4 separate regions of the Homo sapiens genome follow, and all the other regions are linked to region 4. Evidence: promoter capture Hi-C in 16 types of primary human blood cells and fetal thymus (Javierre and others, 2016). All regions are on one chromosome and are shown on one strand. The core of a region is centred on a gene start or on the middle of the fragment in contact, and the rest is flanking DNA. Distances in the headings are between cores, read along the strand shown.

Evidence for each region. The method cuts DNA at HindIII sites, captures the fragments that hold promoters and counts their contacts. A CHiCAGO score of 5 or more calls a contact.
Region 1: a fragment that was not itself captured here is called in contact with the fragment with the promoter of H1-10-AS1 in region 4 in 1 of 17 cell types (total B cells); the score reaches 7.0 in total B cells.
Region 2: a contact is called between a fragment that was not itself captured here and the fragment with the promoter of H1-10-AS1 in region 4, in 2 of 17 cell types (naive B cells and total B cells). The highest score is 6.1, in naive B cells.
Region 3: a fragment that was not itself captured here is called in contact with the fragment with the promoter of H1-10-AS1 in region 4 in 2 of 17 cell types (total B cells and naive B cells); the score reaches 8.0 in total B cells.

What each region holds. Positions count from the first base shown.
Region 1 is chr3:128,988,853-128,992,267 of GRCh38, forward strand. It overlaps CFAP92 (cilia and flagella associated protein 92 (putative)), which reads right to left. Exons shown (of 16, transcript NM_001394090.1): 3 at 1-66. Among named protein-coding and RNA genes, the nearest start is that of CFAP92, 3.5 kb to the right of the region's middle. The HindIII fragment of the contact is 1,595 bases long and covers 969-2,563 here.
Region 2 is chr3:129,048,482-129,051,718 of GRCh38, forward strand. No RefSeq gene overlaps it. Among named protein-coding and RNA genes, the nearest start is that of GP9, 11 kb to the right of the region's middle. The HindIII fragment of the contact is 1,796 bases long and covers 978-2,773 here.
Region 3 is chr3:129,014,354-129,017,378 of GRCh38, forward strand. All of the region lies in intron 2 of EFCC1 (EF-hand and coiled-coil domain containing 1), which reads left to right. It also overlaps a transcript of CFAP92 not described here. Among named protein-coding and RNA genes, the nearest start is that of EFCC1, 15 kb to the left of the region's middle. RefSeq lists enhancers at 1,573-2,080, 1,794-1,903, 1,924-1,973, 2,651-3,025 and a silencer at 2,754-2,913. The HindIII fragment of the contact is 2,409 bases long and covers 428-2,836 here.
Region 4 is chr3:129,314,605-129,317,750 of GRCh38, forward strand. H1-10-AS1 (H1-10 antisense RNA 1) reads left to right here and starts at 1,667. Exons shown (of 5, transcript NR_026991.1): 1 at 1,667-2,741. It overlaps H1-10 (H1.10 linker histone), which reads right to left and starts at 1,682. Exons shown (of 1, transcript NM_006026.4): 1 at 167-1,682. The coding sequence starts at 1,298. The coding sequence ends at 657. RefSeq lists silencers at 221-510, 891-1,020, 1,821-2,160. The HindIII fragment of the contact is 12,756 bases long and covers 1-3,146 here.

The DNA of each region.
Region 1 (3,415 bases), core at 516-3,015, 330 kb before region 4:
CAGAACTGTCTGTTTTAGGGTGTTTCTTATATTTTTCAATCAAACTTGCATATTTTCCCTTCTGACCTTGAAGATACAGATTGAAAAAGTCTCGTTTTAACCTCATGTGGAAAAGCAGACCCGTCTCCCCAGTTCCCTGGAGCTTGATGTTGTGAGAGGCTGAGCACTCCACATTGCCTGCCCGACTTGGGGAAGGAGGTACAGGTCCAGTGCTCCTAGCCAGCAGAGTAGCACGACCTGGACTGGGCACCTGAGTGCAAAATTTAGGTGCATGGTTTTCAGAGTGAGTGTCTCAGTTGGAGAGTGAGTGTTGGTTAGTAGGCCTAGGGTTAAAAAGGTGATAGAGTTAAAGTGAAATCACATGGCCAGGCCAGATGTTATTAGGAGAGACGCCATACTTGCCTTACCCTGGTCCCTCCTGGCCCTAAGAAGCAGGTAAAAAAAAAAAAAAAAAAAAATCACAGTACAATGTGATTTGTGCAATAATAGCAGCAGGAACAAGGTTGTGAAGAACGAAGGTGGAGGAGAAAACTCTGCATGGGGAGGGTGGGGTGGGCCTCCCAGGGGGACCTTAGCAGAGTCTTAGAGGAGCAAAGCTGGCAGATATTCCAGACAGACAGAGAAAGCAGCTTCACAAAAATGTCATGGGTGAAGCTACCCAATGCGGGGTGGATAGGGTGACAGGATGTGGAAGGTACAGATGGGCTTCTGCCAGAGTCCAGAGCCCAAGGAGCCCCCTGACCCCACCCCTGGTTGCTTACACTCCAGCTTAAACTGCACACTCTAGGTTGGGGCTTTTCACATCATAAGAAGCTCCATAAACATTTAATCCAAATATCATTCTATAAAAACATGACTGTCTTTAAAGCTGTAGTTTTTAAAGTCTAAATTTTTAACCCCAGGAGACTGCTGCAGCATTAATTTTTCTGCTACCAAAATAGTTAGCATTTGTGCAGAGATTGGAGTGAAGCTTCTCCTGCCAGTCTCTGGTAGCATTAGACCTTTTCTGATTCAATCCCAGGTGGGCCAGCAAGTGGACAAACAGAGCCTCTCATTTTCTGTAGACAGAAAGGCAAGTTATTTAGCCCTTTTAAAGGGGAAGTTGACAATATCTATCAAAAACTATTAATACATGCCTTCAATCCAGCAAATTTACTTCTTGGAATACAGGCAACAGAAGTGCCCACATATATGCACAAAAATGGACGTAAAGAATGTCTATCGCAGAATTGCAACAGAAAAACATTTGAAACAACTCAAATATCCACCAATAAGGGGTAGGATAAATTAGAGACATATAATGGAATACTGTTAATATATAGGTGTTTAAAATGAAACAACAAAATTAAAACAAGTATCCTTGCCCAGGCAAAGTGGCTCATGCCTGTAATCCTAGCACTTTGGGAGGCCCAGGCAGGAGGATGATCTGAGGTCAGGAGTTCCAGACCAGCCTGGCCAACATGGCGAAACCCCGTCTCTACTAAAAATACAAAAATTAGCTGGGCATGGTGGCATGTGCCTGTAGTTCCAGCTGCTTGGGAGGCTGAGGCAGGAGAATCGCTTGAACCCAGGAGGCGGAGGTTGCAGTGAGCCAAGATCGCGCCACTGTACTCCAGCCTGGGTGACAGAGAGAGACTCTGTCTAAAAACAAACAAACAAAAACAAGTATCCTTGATCATATTCTCAAAGATAATCTAAATCATGTCAAAACATTTTAAAGTAAGTTGTAGGATCTCATTTCTCTGAAATAAACAATTTATAGGTCGGGCGTGGTGGTTCACGTCTGTAATTCCAGCGTTTTGGAAAGCCAAGGCGGGTGGATCACCTAAGGTCAGGAGTTCAAGACCGGCCTGACCAATATGGTGAAACCCCATCTCTACTAAAAATACAAAAATTAGCTGGGCGTGGTGGCATGTGCCTGTGGTCCCAGCTACTTTGGGAAGCTGAGACAGGAGAATTGCTTGAACCTGGGAGGTGGAGGTTGCAGTGAGCCGAGATTGTGCCACTGAACTCCAGTCTAGGCAACAGAGCAAGACTCCGTCTCAAAAATAAATAAATAAATAATTTATATAAAGAAACATTTATGTACTCATCTGTAAATACTCAGGTATTGAAGGAAAAAAAAATTAAACTAGAATTTTATGTAGAGCCGAAGGTATGTCATTTAAAGGTATTGGCATGATAAAAAAATACTCTTAGGCACACAAGGTCTCATGAAGTTTTGCCCCACAGAGATCCATTTTATAAATGCCTTTAGAGGACAACAACAACAAAAACAAAAACATGCTTAGAAGATGCTGTGAAAGAGATGAGGGCTAAAGGAGGTCAAGTGCCAATTTTCTTTTGGTTGGTATTTGCCAGATGTCTTTTTCCAGGCTCTTTTGCTTTATAGCAATAGACCCAAGAGTAAAGGCATCATTTTAGACAGGAATGGTCACCATAAAATGACAAAAAGTTCAGTTCACCAAGAAGATGGAGCAGTTCTAAACATACTATACACCCAACCAGTCGGCCTCCAAAATAGCTGAAGCAACCATCTGTAAGACTCTCCCCAGGGCCTGAAAGCTTAAGGAGATGAATAACTCCTCCCTTCTCAAGCCTAGTCCCAAGGCGTAAGGTCACTTACGTCAGCAGCGTGCACCAGCAAAATAGCAGAAGCAGGAGGAGAGCCGGCTGGAATACACCTACCCTGGCCGGAAGACATGAAGATGAGAAAGAGGCCATCCGGGTACAGCGTAGCAGTTACGCCAGACTAGGACACTTCCTGTTTACAGGAGACTATAAAACCTTTGCCCCGTCCTCACTTGGGGCTGACGCCATTTTAGGCCTCAGCCGGCCTGCACCAAGGCGTTCATTGAAACAGCATGTTGCTCCACACCGCCTCGTGTTGTCTGTTGGTGCGCTCTCGGGGTTCCAACCCATACAAGAAACTTACACCATCGACAGAATACCAGGAGAAGTTGAAATCATAATGGTGGGCTAGTTCAAGTAAGCAGATGAAAACAAAACAAAGCAAGGTCTATCAAGATGTGAAGTACTACTTGTCTCCTCCCCTCATATTGGGCTGGAACCATGTGACTTGGTTTGGCCAATAAAATGCTAGCAGGTGGGAGACACTCAAAGACTTGAGGAGTGTTTGTGGGGCTAGGCTTGCCCTCCTGTGTGTCCGTGTTTCTAGAACAAGAAGGGGTCTAGGATAGCCCACTGGTCCAGGAGGAAAAGGAGCAGCATGAAGCAGAGCTGAGCTGTTGCAGAACCCAGCCTAGACCAGCGCCCAGCACCTCCAGGAGAACCTCAGGTTCCTGTGTGCAGCCATGAGCTTGGGGGCTTGTTTGGGTTTGTTGCACCGCATTTTTGTGGCAATAGCTAATTGATACACCTTTACATTCAGAGATTGATTCAACAGATCAGAGAA
Region 2 (3,237 bases), core at 626-3,125, 270 kb before region 4:
TAGATGCTTTCTCAGTAAGATCAGGGACAAGGCAAGGATGTCCTCTCTCACCATTTCTTTTTCAGCATCATACTGGAAGTCCTAGCTAATGCAATAAGATAAGAAAAGGCAATAAAAGGTATAAAGATTTTCTACATAGATGACCATATCATCAGCAAAGTTGGAGAAAATCCAAAAGAATCGACAACATGTTACTGAAACTAATTAGCAACTATACCAAAGTTGTAGGATACAGGGTTCATACACAAAAGCCAATCACCTTTTTTTTTTTTTTTTTTTTTTTTGAGATGGAGTCTCACTCCGTCACCCAGGCTGGAGTGCAGTGGTGTGATCTTGGCTCACTGCAACCTCGGCCTCCCGGGTTCATGCCATTCTCCTGCCTCAGCCTCCCAAGTAACTGGGACTACAGGTGCCCATCACCACGCCCGGCTAATTTTTTTTTTTTTGTATTTTTAATAGAGATGTTAGCCAGGATGGTCTCGATCTTCTGACCTCATGATCCTCCCGCCTTGGCCTTCCAAAGTGCTGGGATTACACGCGTGAGCCACTGCGCCCAACCAAGCCAATCACTTTTCTATATACCAACAATGAACAAGTGGAATTTGAAATTCAAAATACAATACCATTTACATTAACACCCCCAAATACAAAATACTTAAGTATAAATATTTTAAAATATATGTATAAGCTCTATGTGAGGAAAGCTACAAAACTGTTATGAAAGAAATCAAAGAACGAAATAGATGGAGAGAGATTCCGTGTTTAAGAGCAAGAAGACTCAATATTGTCAAGATCTCAGTTCTTCCCAGCTTGATCTACAGACCAAATGCTATCCTGATCGAAATTCCAGCAAGTTACTTTGTGGATATTAACAAACTGATTCTAAAGTTTATATGGAGAAGCAAAAGACCCAAAATAGCCAACACAATATTTAAGGAGGAGAACAAAGTTGGAGGACTGACATGACCCAACCTCAAAGCTTATGCTAAATCTACAGTAATCAAGACAGTGTGGTATTGGTAAAAGAACAGACAAATAGATCAATGGAACAGAATAGAGAGCCCAGAAGTATACCCATAGTCAACTGATGTTTTTACAAAGGAACAAAGGAAATATAATGGAGAAAAATTATTTTCAACGAATGATGCTAGAACAACTGGACATCCAAATGGAAAAAAAAATTTAGATATAGACCTTACACTCTTAGGAAAAATTAACCCAAGGCCAGGCACAGTGGCTCACGCCTATAATCTCAGCACTTTGGGAGGCTGAGGCGAGTGGATGACCTGAGGTCAGGAGTTCGAGACCAGCCTCGCCAACATGGTGAAACCCCGTCTCTACTAAAAATACAAAAATTAGCCAGGCATGGTGGTGGGGACCTATAATCCCAGCTACTCGGGAGGCTGAGGCAGGAGAATCGCTTGAACTCAGAGCAGGGCAGGGGGAGGGGCAGGTGGAGGTTGCAGTGAGCCAAGATCACATCACTTCACACCAGCCTGGGCGACAGAGCAAAACTCCATCTCAAAAAAAAAAAAAAAGAAATGAGCTACCAAGCCATGAAAAGACATGTAGGAACCTTAAATGCATATTACTAAGTGAAAGAATTTAATCTTTAAAGGCTAAATATTATATGATCCTAACTGTATGACATTCTGGAAAAGGCAAAACTATGGAGACAGTAAAAGGATCAGTGGTTGCCAGGGATTAGGAGATGGGGAAGGATGAACAAGGGGGCCCAGAAGATTTTTCAGGGCAACAACACTATTCTGTATGATACCATAATGGTAGATATGTGTCATTAGACATTTGTCTCGACCCATAGAATGTCTGACTCCAAGAGTGGGCCCTCAGAAACTACGGACATTGGGCAATAATGGCATGTCCTTGTAGTTTCATCAGTAATAACATATGCCCCACTCTACTGGGGATGTTACTGATATGGAAGGCTGTGCATGTTGGGGGGCAGGGCGTGTATAGGAACTGACTTTCCACTCAATTTTTGCTGTGAACCCAAAATAAAGCCTATTTAAAAAGAAAAAAAGAAAGAACTAGAGAATGGATAGAGGCAGCCTCTTAGCTATCTCTGCACAGAGTCAGCCTAGTGTTGGGGCATCCTGGACCCTCTGAACGTCACTGGTTTGCAGCCTGGATGGCCTTCCCTTTTGCCCAGTGGGGAGAGGCTGAGACTTCTGTAATTTCAGCACCTTGGTGTTGGGTGTGACCTAAGCACCTGCCTGATGCCCTGCCCTGGCCCACAGCCGGCCTGCTGCTGTCAGCTCAGCATGAGCCTCAGAGTTCATGAGGGCCTCAGAGGACCAGGGGGCTTCCCTGGAGGAAAACCCAGATGAGGAGACCAAAGGCAGCGTCAACATTTGTGATTCACAGAGACCAGGCATGGGGCTTCTCCCACATCCACGTTTTACTGCTGGGGACACTGATGAGGACTCGTGCTCACAGCCACACAGCACAATAGCAGAGCCAGGACTCAGAGCTCAGCCCGGGTCACCCAAGCCCACACTCGAAACCACTCGACAAGGCTGCACCAAGATCAGCAGGCAGGGCCTGTACTGAGTGCCAAGCCCTGAGGCCACGGAAAGAGAGGGGGTAAGAGGGTGCAATTTCATAGAAAGATGGAGGTATGCCTTTGTCCACTGAGCTGAAGTCTGAGACGATGTCTCGAGGGAGCAAAACGGTGGCACCCAGGGAGCTGCAACCATGGGAAACATGGGGTCTCCTTTGGCCAGAAACAGAGTAAGCCAACAATTCCTGAGAAAGCTTCACCAAAAAAAGAACCTCCCCTGATATTTGGGTCCAAGAAATAGCCACGACTCTGACCTAAAAGGTTCCTGGCTGGGAGCGGTGGCTCACGCCTATAATCCCAGCACTTCAGGAGGCCAAGGTAGACAGATCACTTGAGGCCAGGAGTTCGAGACCAGCCTGGCCAATATGTCGAAACCCTGTCTCTACTAAAACTACAAAAATTAGCTGGGTGTGATGGTGCACACCTGTAGTCCCAGCTGGCTGAGACGCTGAGGCATGAGAATCACTTGAACCCAGAACACAGAGGCTGCAGTAAGCGAAAATCCCACCACTGCACTCCAGCCTGGGTGACAGAGTGAGACTCTGCCTCAAAAAAAAAAAAAAAAAAAGGTTCCTGTAACTTGAGGGTCCTAGGGACTACTAGTTACTAGTAACTAATTAATCCCTTGATTGATGCCTCTCCGTAAAGGTTAGAGC
Region 3 (3,025 bases), core at 382-2,881, 300 kb before region 4:
CACAGCTGTGGAGGCTGACCAGAGTGCGGTGTCGCAGCGTTGGCTTCTCCTGCGGCCTCTCTCCTGGGCTGGCAGCCAGGGCCGCCTTCTCCCTGTATCCTCGCGTGGTCTTCCTTCTGTGTGTATTTCTGTCCTAATCCCCTCTTCTTAGAAGGACACCAGTCAGACTGGATTAGGGCCCACCCTAAAGACCTCATTTTAACTTGATTACCTCATTAAAGGTCCCATCGCCAAATAAGATCACATTATGAGGAGCTCTGGGGGTCTGGACATCAACATATGAATTGGGGAGACACAACCAGCCCATCACAGGAGACTTCTCTGAGATGTGACCCTGGAATTGAGGCCTGAGTGGCAAGGTGGGGCCATGACTTGTGTGATCCAGGGCGGAGGTGACTCCCATAGCAAAATCACAGGGCTGGGCACAAGCTTGGCTTGTCTGCACTGCCTGCACGGGGACGAGCAGGTTGGAGCCAGCCTGGATGCCGAGGGGCCAGTGAGGAGGGGCCAGTGAGGAGGAGCAGGTGAAGAGCCCTCCTCACCTGTACACACGGAGTCCTGCTAAGTCTCAGCTCCAAGTGGCTCAGACCCACCTGCTACTCTCCAGTCGCACCCACCACCCAGCCCAGCCCCAGCACCACTCCTGGACAGCTGTCCTAGCCTCCTGACTGGTGTCCCAGCTCCATCAGAACCACGGACCACACAGCATCAGGTTAATCTTTTCAACACCCAGATCCCACCTCGGGCTCGCCCACTCACAACTCTCCTGTGACCTCCTCTGGTGACCATCATGACTGTGAGTGACCAGGCCCTTTCCCATCCTCTCCTGCAGCCACACTGACCCTCCAGGGCTCCCCTTCTCAGGCCCTTTGGGCATACGGCTCCCTCCACCATCCCCAAGCCTACTCCTGACCAATCCACATTCACCCTTCAGGTCTTGCCAGACCCCAACTCTTTAGGGAGGCCCCACCTCCATCTACAGCCTCTTCCTAACGTCTTTCACGGCCCCTGGACTTTTCTGTCCTTCATGTATTTTTGTGATGACTTCATTGAGGTCTGCTCCTTCGGGGGGGGAGGTTGCGGGGTAAGCTCTGTGAGGTCAGGGGCCATGCCATTGCTAAGGACAGTGGCTGGCTCAATACTTCATCCTTCGGTGAATTAAAGAACCAAGTCAGCAGCTTGGGCTGGCAGGGCCTTAGAAGTCACCCAGCCCAGGCTGACACCCTGCACGGCGCCCCCGAGAGCTGAGTGTCCGTGTCTGCTCGCACACTCCTGTTGCACCCTTCCCACCGCCATCCCCTGCTCAGTAAAGTTGGGGGGGTTCCCGAATTCAGGTAGGGACCAGAGAGGAGTCACAGAGGACCCCTGAGGACTGTCCCCCCACCCCTTGTGATTTATTTTCCGCCCTTCCTCTGCTGCATCCCGCCCCCCTACCCCAAGCTGTTCTTCCTGCTGTTGTTCTCTTGTTTTCACATGTTGCTCTCTGTTTCCTGTAAGGCTGCTTCACTCAGGAAACGCCATGCAGCAAAGGAAGCCGCTGTGTGCGAACCTCCAGGACCTCCCAGAGTAGGTGCTGCAGCGTGGCCGTGGCCTGATGGCCCAAAGTAGCCTGGCTGGGTTCTGAGGGACCTGTCAGCTCTGCAGCTTCCTGAGACTTGCTGAGTCACTGAGCGGCTCAGAGCATAGGAAGCAGAGAGAAAAAGACAGCAGTGACATTTTTCATCTATTCCAGAATAAACTGAGCCCAGGCGGTGTAATGGGCTTTTGATGCGTCCCCCTGGCTTTGATGTGATGCCTTGACCGCTCCCTTGGTTACAGCAAGTTAACCGGTCAAACACTAAGCTACAGTTGCTGTACAGGTATTCTGCATATGGATTAAAGTCTGTCATCAGTTGACTTTAGGTAAGGGACATTATCCTGGCTGGTCTGGGTGGGCTTCAAGAGCCAAACAGGCTTCTGTGTGAAAGAGAAGTTCCACCTGTGGACAGAAGGGTGTGGAATCCATCTACAGCCAGGCCTACAAGCTGTAGCTCTTTCTGAAGGACTTTATGACAAGGAAGTGGGCTGTGTGATTGTGGGGGCTGGCTAAGCAAGCCTGAAGTCCACAAAAGGGAAGCTGGCAGGCAGGTGGAGCTCATGGGCACGCCCGTGTCTAGAGCCTCTGGGGAAGCCCATAAGCCGTGCCCGTGAGCTCCACCTGCCTGCCAGCTTCCCTTCTGTGGATTCCAGACTCATTTAGCCAGCCCCCGTGATCACACAGGCCACCTGCTTGTCATAAAGCCCTGGAGACAGAGCTACAGCTGCAGGCATGGCTGTAGATGGATTCCACACACTGGCCCCACTTCTCTGGTCAAACCCTGACTCGTACAGGGCCTGAGGCAGGAGGGGGCGGAACTGATTAAGGAACAAAAGCTAACATTTTTGAGCACTCACTGGGTGTTAGGCACTGCACTAAGGACTTTATCTGTACAACCTTATTGCACTCCCAAGCAGTGCTGTGAGTGGTTTATCAGTGATGATGCTTTATGCTGCAAGAACATAAAACCCAACTCAGAATGGCTTAAACCACAAGGACATTTATTATCTCATGTGAGAAGTCCAGGGGAGAGCAGTTCCTTGGCAGTTCAGTAAAGTTTTCAAGGACCTGATTCATCTTCCACTCTGTTTTCCTCAGCTTGTCATTTTGGCCTGTCAGCAAGGACCCCTCATGGTTGCAAGAGAGCTGCCATGGCCTCAGGCATCACTGCCATATCCACGGGTCCTCCTGGCAGACTTCCCCTCACCTCTCTTTGGCCAGAATTGCATCACATGCCTGTTTCTAAACCAATCTGAAGGAAGCTTCATGATTGAGGCTTCGTGAAGGCGGCTTCATGATTGGCTCAGGCCAGTCAAGTCTCTCTGGGAGCACAAGGCCACAGTCGGGGTTGAGCTGACAGCAGATGGGGTGTGGTTGTTTGGATGGCTGAATTTGGTTTCTATCACAACCATAGCCGATCACCACACTCTTAGTGACTTGAAACAACAC
Region 4 (3,146 bases), core at 417-2,916:
TTTAAGTTCGTCCCAAGCCAGCAATTCCCACCCCTTGCTGAAGGCCCCTGGCTCCAGGCCTACCCTGGCCAACAGATCTGGGGTATAAGGACCCGAGGGGCCCGCCATCCAACCCCGCGTGCCGAAGGCGCCCATCCCTATTCCACTCAGATTAAACGAGAGAGGCTGAAAGGTTTAAACGCTTTATTGTGCCCAAAAAAAGGCCCATGGAATGAAGGGAAGAGCCGCGCAGCCCTGAGCCCGGAGCGATTGTTTGTCGCGCACCCAAAGGCAAGGAGGGTGGGGAGCTGGGAAAGGATGCGCGGCCTCCGCGTCCCCGCGCGCCTGGGCCCGGCCAACCAGCGACCCCGCCCGGTGGGCAGGCGCGGCCTCGGCCATCGGCGCCTAGGGGCCAGTAACCATGACGACGGCCGTTGCCAAGGCCGAGAGCCAATAGAGGCGTCGCCGGGGCTGTTTCAAAAACCTAAAGCAAACAACGAAAAACGCTACATCGTTGGGGGAGGGGAAAGACTGAGAGGACCCGGGGCCCCTCCCTGAGGCTCAGACCAGGCCTCGCGGCCCCGGCCGGCGTGAGCCGTACAAAATCTACGTCACTTGGGGTAGAAAAACAAAAACACCGAAAAGCCCACGCCGGCCGCTCTGACCGGCCGACACGCTCACTTGCGGCCCTTGGGCACTTTGGGGACGCTGGGCTTGGCCGCCTTCTTCACCTTCTTGCCCCCGGCGGCCGCCGTCTTCTTGGCCTTGCCGCCTTTGTCCTTCTTGGCGCCAGCGCCCTTCTTGTGCGAGCGCTGCTCCGGCTTCTGGCCCCTGGCGGGCTTCTTGTCCGCGCGCCGGGAGCCGGCCGCGCCCGGGGCTGCCTTCTTCGCTTTGTGCGCGGTGGGGGCCGGGGCGGTGGCGGCCGCCGGGGCTCCGCGCCGCTCCCCGCCGCCCTCCAGCTTCTTGCGGTTGAGCTTGAAGGAACCGTTGGCGCCGGTGCCCTTCACCTGCAGAAGCGTGTCGTTCTGCACCAGCGCCTTGATCGAGTACTTGAGGTAGGTGCGCCCATTCTGCTGGTCGAACCACGGAACCTTCTTGGCCTCGGTGTAGATCTTGGCCAGCGACGAGCCGTTGCGCTCGCCCAGCCTACGGATGGTCTCCACCACCAGCTGGCTGTACTTGCCCGGCTGGTTCTTCTTCTTGCTATTCTTCCTCTTCTTAGATGGGGACAACGCCGCCGAGCCGCCAGCCTTGGTCACCTTCTTGGCCATTCCCTCGGCGGTCGTCACTGGCAGGGCCTCCTCGAGCTCCACGGACATGGTAGCAAGAGGATTGGTGGCGGGCGGCGCGCGGAAGCCGGGGGGCCGCGCCGGGAAGAGGAAGGCGAGGGGCCGAGGGGGTGCAGGGGGGCTGGGGGCGCGCGGCGGCTCCAGGCGGGAGCGGCCGCGGCCGGGCCTGGGGCCGGGCGGCAGGGCTGGGGTGGGGGCCGGGCCGGGCCGGAGCGAGGGTTGGGGGGCCCGGAGCCGGGGCCGGACTAGGGGACCGAGTTGGGGGTCAGAGACCGAGTCCGAGCCGGCGGCTGGAGCTGGGGACGTAGACCTAGGCCGAGCCGGAGCGAAGAGAAATCCCGCCGAACGCGAGACACCGCCGCCGCAGCTTCCACTGGCGCCTCTGGAACTCGCTGGGCGTGCGCGCTGCGCTCTGGCGGGAGGGCGCTTCTCTCGGCTTTTTATAGCTTCATGGCGGACCACGTTGAGAACAACAACAGCCTGGTCCGGGGCCAGCGCCAACTTGTGCTTCTTGGAGCCCCTTCTCCGGCCGCTGGCTTCTCGGACCGCGCCTCTCCAGCGCCGCCGCGCCCGCAGCGGGGCGCCCCGGACAGGGCCTGAGCTCCCGGCGCAGTGGAGAGGCGACTTGCGTCCTGGAAGGGCTCAGCAAAGGCGAACGGAGAGGTGCACCCTAGGCTGCGGGAGCGCGAGAGGAGGGGGGCACCTCGTTTGGAGGCCAATAGCGCGGGCCCCAGAGGAGGCCCCACGGCCGGGAGCTTGGCGGCCGGCAACCCAGAGAACGCCACGGGCACCCGAGCCTTGTCCCGGCCCGGGGGGCTCCAGGCCTGCCCGCAAGAGGAGCTTTAATTTGTCCAAACTAACACAGGGCGCGCCCTCACGTGGTCGGCTGGGGCAACGTGAACTGCGCTAGGACATCCTCGGGGGTTTTCCGCCCCATCCAAAGGGGATGGCGGATGGGAGGCACTCTCCAGCTGCACCCCGGGTTCTGGTTGTGCCTCTGGGAGCCTAGGCACAACCCGGGGAATGGAGGACTACGGCAGGACCTCTCTAGGGACACTGCCTCGCCGCTCCCCCCACCCTGTTGCCGCTGATGTTCCCAGGGCCTCATTTTGTAATCCACAAGTAGCTGCCGCCGGTCCCCCCAAAGCCAAATGGGGGCTCCAGGGTGGGACAGGGTGGGCGGGGGTGAGGCTGTGACACCCAGAGGAATTCCTGTGAGAGGATGGGGAAGGGATTCGCTCTTAGTTCCTGGGTGCACCCCTCCCCCTCTCCCGTGCACAGGGAAATGATGGCGGGAACACAGCAAAGGAGACCATGTCCTGGAGAGGGTCCCGGGCCCCACCCTCCCCGGGGGGGCTTGTGCAAGGCTGGCGGCCCGATCTCTGCTGATTCCAGTATTGGGGGTGCAGAGAAGGCACAGGACAGTTTTTGTTGAAGCCGTTGCAGCCTCCACTTGGGGAAGCTGAGGCCAGGGTAAGATGCTCGGGTAGGAGAGGGGATCCCTTTGGGGGTAGGTGATGTAGGGCACAGGAGTGGGGCTGGGGCTGGGGGGTGGCAGGGTTGCAGGCAGGAGACAGTCTCCAGAGGCCCAGCATAGAAAAGCGATGGAGGGGTGAGGGGGGACAGGACGCTGGCGAATTGGGGTTCCCAGAGTGAGAGACAGGAACATTTACAGGTGGACAGAGTAAAAGGCCCTGAAAAGGGGGTGGGTTGGTGCATTTGTGGCCTTGGGCCCAAGCAGGCTTCTCTGGGTGAGGGCTAGCAGCACCTCCCCTCTTCTCCAGCTCACCCCTTTCACACACACACACGCCCCCCATTTTGTCACCCTGTCAAGGGAATAAACCCCAGAGAGGAAGAAATTATGTCTAGGAGGAAACG